Regions from separate parts of the Homo sapiens genome. Here regions 1, 2 and 3 are each linked to region 4. The links are contacts of gene promoters, found by promoter capture Hi-C in blood cells and fetal thymus (Javierre and others, 2016). All regions are on one chromosome and are shown on one strand. The core of a region is centred on a gene start or on the middle of the fragment in contact, and the rest is flanking DNA. Distances in the headings are between cores, read along the strand shown.

Evidence for each region. Contacts are between HindIII fragments. The CHiCAGO score rates a contact against its expected background, and 5 or more counts as called.
Region 1: a fragment that was not itself captured here is called in contact with the fragment with the promoter of CENPE in region 4 in 1 of 17 cell types (endothelial precursors); the score reaches 7.3 in endothelial precursors.
Region 2: a fragment that was not itself captured here is called in contact with the fragment with the promoter of CENPE in region 4 in 1 of 17 cell types (fetal thymus); the score reaches 7.1 in fetal thymus.
Region 3: a fragment that was not itself captured here is called in contact with the fragment with the promoter of CENPE in region 4 in 1 of 17 cell types (fetal thymus); the score reaches 8.8 in fetal thymus.

What each region holds. Positions count from the first base shown.
Region 1 is chr4:103,777,212-103,780,076 of GRCh38, forward strand. No RefSeq gene overlaps it. Among named protein-coding and RNA genes, the nearest start is that of TACR3, 59 kb to the left of the region's middle. The HindIII fragment of the contact is 6,341 bases long and covers 1-2,865 here.
Region 2 is chr4:102,615,710-102,618,409 of GRCh38, forward strand. NFKB1 (nuclear factor kappa B subunit 1) reads left to right here. Exons shown (of 24, transcript NM_003998.4): 24 at 725-1,593. The coding sequence ends at 885. All of the region lies in intron 1 of LOC105377347 (a long non-coding RNA gene), which reads right to left. Among named protein-coding and RNA genes, the nearest start is that of NFKB1-AS1, 110 kb to the left of the region's middle. The HindIII fragment of the contact is 613 bases long and covers 1,145-1,757 here.
Region 3 is chr4:102,440,054-102,442,753 of GRCh38, forward strand. The region is part of intron 2 of NFKB1-AS1 (NFKB1 antisense RNA 1); the gene reads right to left. Among named protein-coding and RNA genes, the nearest start is that of NFKB1, 60 kb to the right of the region's middle. The HindIII fragment of the contact is 1,305 bases long and covers 781-2,085 here.
Region 4 is chr4:103,196,966-103,199,739 of GRCh38, forward strand. CENPE (centromere protein E) reads right to left here and starts at 1,378. Exons shown (of 49, transcript NM_001813.3): 1 at 1,299-1,378. The coding sequence starts at 1,354. RefSeq lists an enhancer at 1,240-1,794. The HindIII fragment of the contact is 3,749 bases long and covers 424-2,774 here.

The DNA.
Region 1 (2,865 bases), core at 100-2,599, 580 kb after region 4:
ATTCTAACTTGGGTTTACATTTATTTAATATACTTGAAGTTGGGCCTTTGTTATTCTGGCAGTCACTTAAAGTTTCACATAAACGGGTGCCTACTCCTGGATCAAGGGATATAAAATGTCATCAAATTCTAGGCACAGAAAATTACAAGGCATAGGAGGCTATGCTTAGAGTCTGTCAGGTGAGTCATAGACACCAATGTGTCTCAGCGTATCTCAGTTTTTACTGTAGGGAATTACTTTGATTTACAGTATTTTTTAAAAAGTATTTATTTATTTAGGTCAGTTTTAGTTTCACCAGGAAATTGAGAGGGAGGCACAGAAATTTTTCACATACCCTCTGCCCTCACACATGCATAGACTCCATCATTATCAACATCCTTACCAGAGTCGTACATTTGTTACAATTTGATTAAACCTACATTGAAACATTATTATCACCTAAAGTCCATAGTTTACATTAAGGGTCATTCTGGGTGTATGCATTCTATGGGTTTGAACAAATGTATAATGACATGTATCCACAATTATGGTATCATATAGAGTATGTTCAATGCCCTAAAAATCTGTGTTCCAAATACTTATCTATCTCTCCCCTCTGATGCCTGGAAACCATTAATTTTTAATTATAGCAATGGTTTTGCCTTTTCCAGAAAATCACATACAGTTTGTTTTTTGGGTTTTTTTTTGTTTTTTTTTGTTTTTGAGACAAAGTCTCGCTCTGTCACCCAGGCTGGAGTGCAGTGGCGCGATCTCGGCTCACTGCAACCTCCGCCTCCCAGGTTCAAGCAATTCCTTGCCTCAGCCTCGTGCATAGCTGGGATTACAGGCACATGCCGCCATGCCCAGCTAATTTTTGTATTAGTAGAGATGGAGTTTCACCATCTTGGCCAGGCCGGTCTTGAACTCCTGACCTCGTGATCCACCCGCCTCGGCTTCCCAAAGTGCTGGGATTACAGGCGTGAGCCATCGCCTGTATATTCTGTCTAGGTATTTACAGATTTACTGTATATTCTGTCTAGGTATTACACTTAAATAAATTAAAAAACAAAAAGGTGAGGCCCAGAAAAGAAATGCCAATAGATTTATCTACAATGTTTTCATTAAAGGCTCAAAGATGTAGGTTATTTGCAGCAGAAAAGAGTCCTGTCATCCCTCCATCTCTTTCCATTCAGCTTCCCTTATTAGCTTGCTAATAGGGCCCAAGGAGATAGAGTCATGAAAGGAGACAAAATTTGCATAGTAGAGGCAGTTACACTAGGTGTTTAGGGCCCTCTGGGTGAAGAGGGACAACTGCTGACCCTTTCACTTTAGGGGGCTTGTGTTGGCTCTGTGGAGGCTCCCTTAGGTGGAACTCTTCCACTGTGATTCCCAGTGATACAGAAAATGCATATCTTCTATCAGCAACTTTCCCTGATTTTCCCATTGTCTGCTTTACAGCATATTCTAATAGAATACCTCAGCCCCATAAACACTCTCCTTATGCAAAAATTAAAGTAGCTTTTAGCTACTTCTTGACCAAGTGCTTCACAATGGGTCTACGGGAAACAAGTTACTCAGCCTTTGTCATCAGATTGGAGTGCAGTTACTTTTTGGGTGTTGCCCTACACCCAGCTGCCACGGACATGACACCCTCATTTGTTGACCCAAGAAATGTTGTGAGTGAAGGTCAATACCAGCCAGAGGCAAACTCTCCCTTGCCATCGCAGCCACGGTCTTGCATGTTTAGATTATTTAGTATACCAGACTAATCACCTCCTCAAATCAAGTGCTGGTTGGTTCTTTTGAGGCTTCCTCATCTAACTTGTAGTAGATCAAGTAATATCATCCACCCAGGCCCTTTGACAAAAGGCTTGGCATTCATATATGGCAGCAATGCTCCAAAGGAATTTTTTCATTCAGACAGTGATAGGCTCAGTGATAAATGTGTCATATTCTCTGTGGCTTAATACAATGTATCCAATTTTTTTCTACCACATCTGATGCAAAGCAGATAGTTCTTTTTGGCTCTACTCTGATAACCCCAAATCCAGGCCTTTTCCATCATAGCAGAATCATGCAGTCTTCAAAATTATGGTAGAAGAGAAGACAGGATCACACTGTTTGTTTGTAAGGCCAGTGTCTGCAAGTAGCTTAAATACCCTCCACCTCCATTAAATTAATTTTGTTAGCCAATACTCAGTCTTACACCCCCTGACATAATTTGGGAGGTTATGCCTTATTCATATTCCTGGGGAAAGACATTATGCAGTGAATACATAGCATTGCTTCTGCCACAGAAACTCCTTCACTCTTCGTATCTCCTTATACCCTTTCAATAGAAGTTCCTGAAAGAGTAAATAACTCCTATGATGCTGGTTTTTGGATACATCCTTTGAAAATATGCTTTTTAGTCTAGCTCCTTGCTTTGATATCTGATATCCATTATCACCTTGGAATCTCAGACAAAATAGAAACAGGATTAGTCTTATTTTAGTATTTCATTTAGATTTCCTACTTAGGTGATTTAACAAATATTGAGCAAAAACTGCTTCAGAGCTGGAGAATACGTATCTTCCAATTTATAAAACAATTCTGCCTGATAAATTTTGCTACATGAATGTTAATAGTGTAGAAATCATCAATATATAAAAGCATCTCAAAGGTACCTGAGTCATCTGTTCTGTATGTTTATTGTGTAGACTAAATATATCAGAGACTTCAGTTTCAGTACAAAAAATATATAGAGGCATACCTCAGAAACATTGTAGGTTCAGTTCCAGACCACCACGATAAGGTAAATATTGTGATAAAGTAATTCACATGAACGTTTGTTTTCCTAGTACATATAAAAATTATGTTTATACTATAGTGTAAATACATTATTGT
Region 2 (2,700 bases), core at 201-2,700, 580 kb before region 4:
ATTAAACAAATCAGTCAATACCAAAATGATAGTCGTGCCACTGGCATTAAAGTCTTAATATTCTAATATTGGAATTTGGTACATAAGAAGATAGCATTTTGATTAGTGTATGTTAGACTTCTGTTTCCTTCCTCACTGTATAGGAAATAATTTGTCTTGGTCATATCCCTAAGGACACTTATAAACAAAGGGAATTCAACCTGATTTTCCAGTATAGACTCATTTTCACCAAAATCATTTTACTTTTATTGCTACCAAAAATGTTTTCAAGGCAATGTATGCTGTAATAGCATATGAGGCCCAGAGAGAGATCTCATTTTTAGTTCTTGCTTCTGTCACCAATTTATTTTGCTGAGGTTCAGCAGTTTCCCCAGCTATGAAATAGATAATACAGTGGTTGGAAAACTACACTTGATTTCTAAGGGAAAAAAAGGTCCACTGTGAGTCAAGAGAATTCAGAAAGGATTCTCATAAACACAAGACTAGATTGCAGGAAGATGTGAAAGCATTTGGCTAATTCTGACATTTGGCTAATAACATCCTCACAGTATGTCCCAAGTATCTTCTGCCCTTCCCACCACGGTGAGCAGTCATGACAGTGAGGGTGGCATAGGTGGGATGTGTGGCTGGCAGAAGCCAGTGGGCAAGAGTTGTCCACAGAATAGTCCATGAGCTTTTTAGAGCCCGGCCATTCCCCCAGTGAATTTGTGCTTTCTCCCCTCAGACGAGCTCCGAGACAGTGACAGTGTCTGCGACAGCGGCGTGGAGACATCCTTCCGCAAACTCAGCTTTACCGAGTCTCTGACCAGTGGTGCCTCACTGCTAACTCTCAACAAAATGCCCCATGATTATGGGCAGGAAGGACCTCTAGAAGGCAAAATTTAGCCTGCTGACAATTTCCCACACCGTGTAAACCAAAGCCCTAAAATTCCACTGCGTTGTCCACAAGACAGAAGCTGAAGTGCATCCAAAGGTGCTCAGAGAGCCGGCCCGCCTGAATCATTCTCGATTTAACTCGAGACCTTTTCAACTTGGCTTCCTTTCTTGGTTCATAAATGAATTTTAGTTTGGTTCACTTACAGATAGTATCTAGCAATCACAACACTGGCTGAGCGGATGCATCTGGGGATGAGGTTGCTTACTAAGCTTTGCCAGCTGCTGCTGGATCACAGCTGCTTTCTGTTGTCATTGCTGTTGTCCCTCTGCTACGTTCCTATTGTCATTAAAGGTATCACGGTCGCCACCTGGCATTCCTTCTGACCACAGCATCATTTTGCATTCAAATTAAGGGTTAAGAAAAGAGATATTTTAAAATGAGAGTCACTTGATGTGCCATTTTAAAAAAAAAGGCATATTGCTTTTTCTAATGTGGTTATTTCTCTGATTTGCAAAAAAAAAAAAAAAAAAAATACTTGTCAATATTTAAACATGGTTACAATCATTGCTGAAAATGGTATTTTCCCCCTTTTCTGCATTTTGCTATTGTAAATATGTTTTTTAGATCAAATACTTTAAAGGAAAAAATGTTGGATTTATAAATGCTATTTTTTATTTTACTTTTATAATAAAAGGAAAAGCAAATTGATGACCTCACCTTGTTTGATCTGTGCAAATACTTTTCTAAGATGCTTCCTTATAATCATGGGATCATTCCGTATAGCCTGGTTATCACATTCACATTGCCTATTAGAGTCAATTTTTTAATCTAGAAATGAACAAATAATTATCAAAAGGAAAGTGTTTTAACCTAAGATGAAAGCTTTGGATTTGCCTAATCCTTACCCAGCTCATCTTATTTAGATTGTGCCACCTCACTTTCCTCCATCTCATGCAATGCTACACCTCTTCAATGTCTTCTCCACACCTCTGTGATAAAGTATTAAGATTTCCATATACCAGAGGGCCCTGGACTAGGAGCCTTCCAGCATGAAGCTTTGCTGAACAACAGGTGCTGGAGAGGATGTGGAGAAACAGGAACACTTTTACACTGTTGGTGGGACTGTAAACTAGTTCAACCATTGTGGAAGTCAGTGTGGCGATTCCTCAGGGATCTAGAACTGGAAATACCATTTGACCCAGCCATCCCATTACTGGGTATATACCCAAAGGACTATAAATCATGCTGCTATAAAGACACATGCACACGTATGTTTATTGCGGCATTATTCACAATAGCAAAGACTTGGAACCAACCCAAATGTCCAACAATGATAGACTGGATTAAGAAAATGTGGCACATATACACCATGGAATGCTATGCAGCCATAAAAAATGATGAGTTCATGTCCTTTGTAGGGACATGGATGAAATTGGAAATCATTCTCAGTAAACTATCGCAAGAACAAAAAACCAAACACCGCATATTCTCACTCATAGGTGGGAATTGAACAATGAGCTCACATGGACACAGGAAGGGGAATATCACACTCTGGGGACTGTTGTGGGGTGGGGGGGGAGGGGGGAGGGATAGCATCGGGAGATATACCTAATGCTAGATGACGAGTTGGTGGGTGCAGCGCACCAGCATAGCACATGTATACGTATGTAACTAACCTGCACAATGTGCACATGTACCCTAAAACTTAAAGTATAATAAAAAAAAAAGTTGGGAATATGGAAGAGGAAAAAAAATCAGTTTTTGAGCGAGGTACTATTGTCGACATTGTGATGCACAACCAGGATTCCCCTTTGACAAAGGAC
Region 3 (2,700 bases), core at 183-2,682, 760 kb before region 4:
CACACACAGATACAGCCACACATACACCCAGAGAAACCCAGGCATTGTCAAGCCTGGAGGAAGCCAATGTTGACATGTCAGTCCTTTATCTGGTAAGAAAGAAGCATGAACTGCTCTATCACACTTAGTTTGTTTCTGATTTCTGGATCCTACTAAAAAGCAAGGAGGATGAAATTTTTTTTCTTTTCTATTGATTCAGAATCTGGAATTTTGACTACAAAAAAATTTTTTTGGAAATCTTGCCATTAGTCTAAGGCAGGGGGTTACTTAGGGGTTGAAATCTATTAGCTGCTAATGTTTTTGGCTTAGTGAGAATAACAGGATTTGGGGTTCTGAAGGGAAATAGAGTTTGTAGCTTGCTTAAAACTTACTGTAGACCCCCAAATATTAAGATTTTAACATTTGTATTATTAATGATAATATTATTCTTTTTAAATCTGCGTACTGTTTTTCTAAATGTTGGGTTCTAGAGAAATATATTTGAATAGCACTTGCAACTTCCATGAGTTTCTTACCAATAGTAAAGTTATATGGTAGGAATCCCAGATAATGGCTTCACAACTCAATTTGGAAGATTATGTATAGTTTAAAGATGTTATGCTAAGTTTGCTTTAAGTGCTCCATTCAGCAAACTATGTGCAAAAAATGCAGATAGAATGATGGATAGTTAGATTAAATTATCGACTTTCTGAACTTTCCAGTTCTTACTCTGAAAGGATTTCAATTAAGGGGAAGAAGTAGTGTAGTCTTAATATAAAAGTATGAAGTAGGTTATAAATAAGCTTTTATTTTGTGAGTTTCTAATCAATAAGCTCATAATTCATGGTAACTCTTTTAGGCTAAATAAGATTATCAACATCATGACATTTTCTCCTTGCTAGATCTTCATTTTATATAGAGATTCTTCCCTTAGGAATAAAAAAAATCAGAGAAAAAATTTCATTATATATTAGGTACAGTAAATGAGTGAATTATAACTATACCTTTATTAACATTTTAGTTGTATTACAGTCAACAAGGAAAAAATGGTCTAAGGAGATACATTATGTTTGCAATGTTAACTCTTTCACATAACCAGTCTCTTTTTTTTCCCCTGAGTAAATGCATTTTATCACATTTTCTTGCAAATTTGTATCTTCTTTTCTTCCCTGCACAAGAAAAGTTTAACCCACTTACATTCTTTAAGAAAGCATTGATGAGACTAGAAATGATCAGTATTACAGATGTCAAATTAATGTAACATATTCCTTCAATCCAACATGCATTGAGCATCTACTACATGCCAGGTGCTCTGTTAGATGCTGGGGATACAAGTTAAATAAGATGCATAGGCCCTTAACTCAAGGAGGTGGCAATCTATTGGAGAAGATACTGACAAACAGAATAAAATGTGAGCTTTTTATTGTGGAAGTATAGCAGTTGGAACTCTTTGGTTGCAAATGACAGAAAACATGATTCAAACTGGCTTAAACAACAAAGAAATGAACTGGTTCACATGACAAAATTGGAGAAGGGGGAATGGTACATACAGCGTATCTCAATCCAGAGATTCAAGTGACGTCACCGGGATTGGTTTGTGCACCTATCTTAGGTCTACCTTCATCTGCATTGGATTTGTTCTCAAGCTCCAGTGAAGACTGGCAACTCCCAGCTCATTTCTTACTATGTATTATTTGAGGAGATTACTCTTTTAGTAACTCACATTGACAGAAGGGTCAGATTTGTAGAAGTTAATAATGCATCTTTATTTTGTCTTTCCTTTCCTCTTGGTTCTGCACTTCTGCTTTCCAGAATCATATTTCTAAGTAAACTTCCGGTACATAAGTCTTTGTCTCAGGCTCTGCTTTGGAGAGACCCAACCTATGACTGGGATGTTATTCCAGCACACATTAACCCCTAAATTTGCCCCGATCTATTATTGCAGACTCCCAACAACCATGCGTCTACAATGTAGTCATGGTCCCCTGGTCATACCTGATAAAACTAGGGAAAGAAGCCTAACAGACAAGGTGGGCAACTCAGAAATTTCCCCAGGGGTTGATGGGAAATGGACTGAGGAAAAGTTGTTCTCACTGTGGTGGACGAAGCTTAATGACTCGCTTTGCAACTTTACTGGAGCACATTCAGTGAGCTGATGGTCAGAACTGAGGAACTTCATCCATAAGCAGTTGTCAAACCATTGGGAGTTGGAAATAGACCACGGTGAAAGTACCTACATTAGAAAAATCAGCAACTGTTACAAATCCAGTCTTTTTCCACCCAGACAGCCAATTTGCTAGCACACCACTGCCTTCTTCCCTTTGTAGTATTCTAACACCTGAGAAAGGATGAGTGCCTTTGTTCTGTTTACAGAGCAAAGTACAGATGAAGCAATACGGGTCAGGCAAAATCAAATAATCTCCAAACTAAGAGCTTTGTTAACTCCTGTTGGGGCACACAACTTTGGGCTGAGGTCTCTCCTGAAATGAAGACCTCGCCTGAAACGAATTCTTCTTATGAAATAATTTTCTCTGGGCCCACAGGGCAGGTTCCAATTGATCTAGTAACCTATTATTGGGCTTAGAAACTAAACTGAGCTTGCCAGAGACCATCTTTGGTCTGGTCTAGTTAGTACCAGGAGACAAAGGACAAGTGACAACACAGGTCCACGAATTAACAAAAGACAGGAGAGACATGGGACTGTGCCACCCACAATCTGAA
Region 4 (2,774 bases), core at 128-2,627:
TGACAGAAAGTCCATCTTTGAGGATTCAACTCTTAAATGGAGCTTCAGTGACCTTCTGCCGCCTCAAAAGTGTTTTCTTGTGAAGGCTTTCATTCTCACCCTCTCCCCCAGTACTGGTAAACAAAGGGATGGATTCAAAATGCAACTCTGATTATGTCTGTCTTGCTTAAAATTCTTAAAACCTTTTGGAAACTTATGAAATCCTCAGCAGGGCACGAGTCCTAGATCATGTCATTTCTCTCTTCCATTTTCCTCTGAATTCCTAGATACATCCTAAGCTCTACCTGAAGGTCTTCCCCAAATGACAGATGTAACCTCTCTGTGCCTGGAATACTCTGACTTCCCTTTCCATTAAGTAACATAGGGATTATTTCACTCATGAAAAGCGTCAAGACTTTTCTGACACCAGTTCACCCCACGGGAAGCTTTCGTCTCTGATGGGCTAATAACTCCTCTAGCAAACATTCTCTACCTGCCCATCATAACACTTGTCAAAAGGTATCCTAATGGTTTCTTTATGTAGCCGTTTAAGGCATTAGATAATGAGCTCCTCAAAAATAGGAAATTCCTGATCTTGGTATTTGCATTTATTAAACCCCGTGTTCAATAAAAATTTCTCACACACACAAAGTGTTAGCATTTCGGGTCGAGGGCCAGAAGCTAGTGAAGCAAACCGATTTCATTTATTCCTCTTCCTGCTTTTTCTCCCTAGCACTTATTACCTACATATCACCACTTAACATCCTACATTTTCAACTTTACTTTCTGTCTCGTCCCATTAGAATGGAAGAGCCACTGGGCAATGACGGGAGTGTCTGTGTTGTACAAAGTCACTAAAAAAAAATTGATAAATATTTGTAGAATGATCTTGAGTGACGATTGAATGTAATGTGACAAGACAGACTAGCCCTTGTCTTCAGAGGGTCTGGAGACAGCAGTTAGGTGTAAAATGACTAACTGTGATGAGGGCCAGGAAGGCACGGTCCCATACGACTTCTCTAGGCGGGGAATGGGGCAGGGAGGAGCAGATGCCGCAAGGCAGAGCAGCACAGAAGGGAAGGTCTGTATGTCAGCGAGACTGAGTTAAATTTAAGTGAATCTCGCAGCTGGAAAGTATCTTCTAGATCTCCGATCCTCCCCTGTCACTTTACAGACCCTGAAACGATGGCCAGCAGCCGAGTCACTAGACAGCAGAGCCGGGAAGCAGCGGCTCCTGGAAACATCGTAGGCCTCGCCCCTCCGGCTCAGGGCGGCGCCGCAGGCCCAGCGGGCACCGGGCCGTGGTGTGGCCCCCCTACCTGCTGTTCAGCGGCCGCACTCGCACGCAGACGGCCACGGCTCCTTCCTCCGCCATCCTATCAGGCTGAACTGGTCCCAGGAAAATGGCCAGGACCCTCCGCGGCCGGCACTTCAGGGCTCACAGGCCGCCCCGCCTTTAAATTTAAAATTTCCCAAACGCCGCATCTGATTGAGCCGTGGCCTCGTGACGTCATGGGCCATTCCACGTGCGGAGCAGCGCGGGGGACGCAAGGCGGGCGGCGTGACCACTGCTAAACAGGAGAGGGGATTTAAAGGGCCCAGCAGAGAGTCGGAGGAGAGGGCCGAAGGGAGGGGCTCCCAGGAGTGGGCAGAGAGTGGTGGTCCTGGAATACCAGAATACTATTATCTGCCAAAAGCTAGCGAACGTCATCCTCCACCCCATCCTTAAAAAGTTTGGAACCTGTAGACGAAACTAGGTAGAGATACATGTATTTTTCACTACCCAAACAGAATTGCCGTCTTTTAAAGAAACTGCACCAACAGTTTAAAATAAACTTTCAACAGCAAGAGTTGAAATTCGCTGTCCAGTCCAGAAACGTGACAAGCCTGTTGTGCGCCTTAGAAAATCTGAGTTTAGGCTTTTCTCCTGTTTCTCTCTCTCTGTAACTCGTTTCCATTAGCTGTGGCTTCCTCAGAGGTTGAATTAGGGAAAATAAATACCGAGGACTGAAAAACTCATTGAGTAATGGGTTGATACTTTTTTTTTCTTCTTTTTTTTGGAAACGGAGTCTCGCTCTGTCACCCCAGGCTGGAGTGCAGTGGTGCTTATCTCTGCTCATTGCAGCCTCCACCTCCTGCATTCAAGTGATTCTCCTGCCTCAGCCTCCCCAGTAGCTGGGATTACAAGGTGCCCGCCACCACGCCCAGGTAATTTTTGTATTTTTAGTAGAGACGGGGCTTCGCCATGTTGGCAAGGCTGGTCTCAAAGTCCTGACCTCAGGTGATCCACTTGCCTCGGTCTCCAAAAGTGCTGGGATTAAAGGCGTGAGCCACCGCTCCTGGCCTGGTTTGTTACTTTTATTAACTAAGAGGGAAAGCTATTCTAAATACAGTGATTTTTTCCCAAAAATAATGCTTATTTTCCCTTTCTTCTCTCTCTCTCTTTTTTTTTTTTTTTTTTTTTTAAATAAACATGAGTTCTTGCTTTGTCACCTAGGCTAGAGTGCAGTAGGCTGAACACAGCTCACTGCAGGCTCAACTCCTGGCCTCAGCCCAAGTGGGGTTCCCACCTTAACCTCCTGAGTAGCTTGGATTACAGGCACATCACAAGCCCAGATAATTTTTAAATTTTTTTGTAGAGACGGGGTGGTGGGGGGATTAGGGTAGGGAGTGGGGTCTCACAGTGTTGCCTAGGCAGGTCTTGAACTCCTAGGCTCAAGCAATCCTCCTTGCCTTGGCCTCCCAAAGTGCTGGGATTACAAGCATGAGCCATCGTGCCTGGCCTAGCTTTTTAT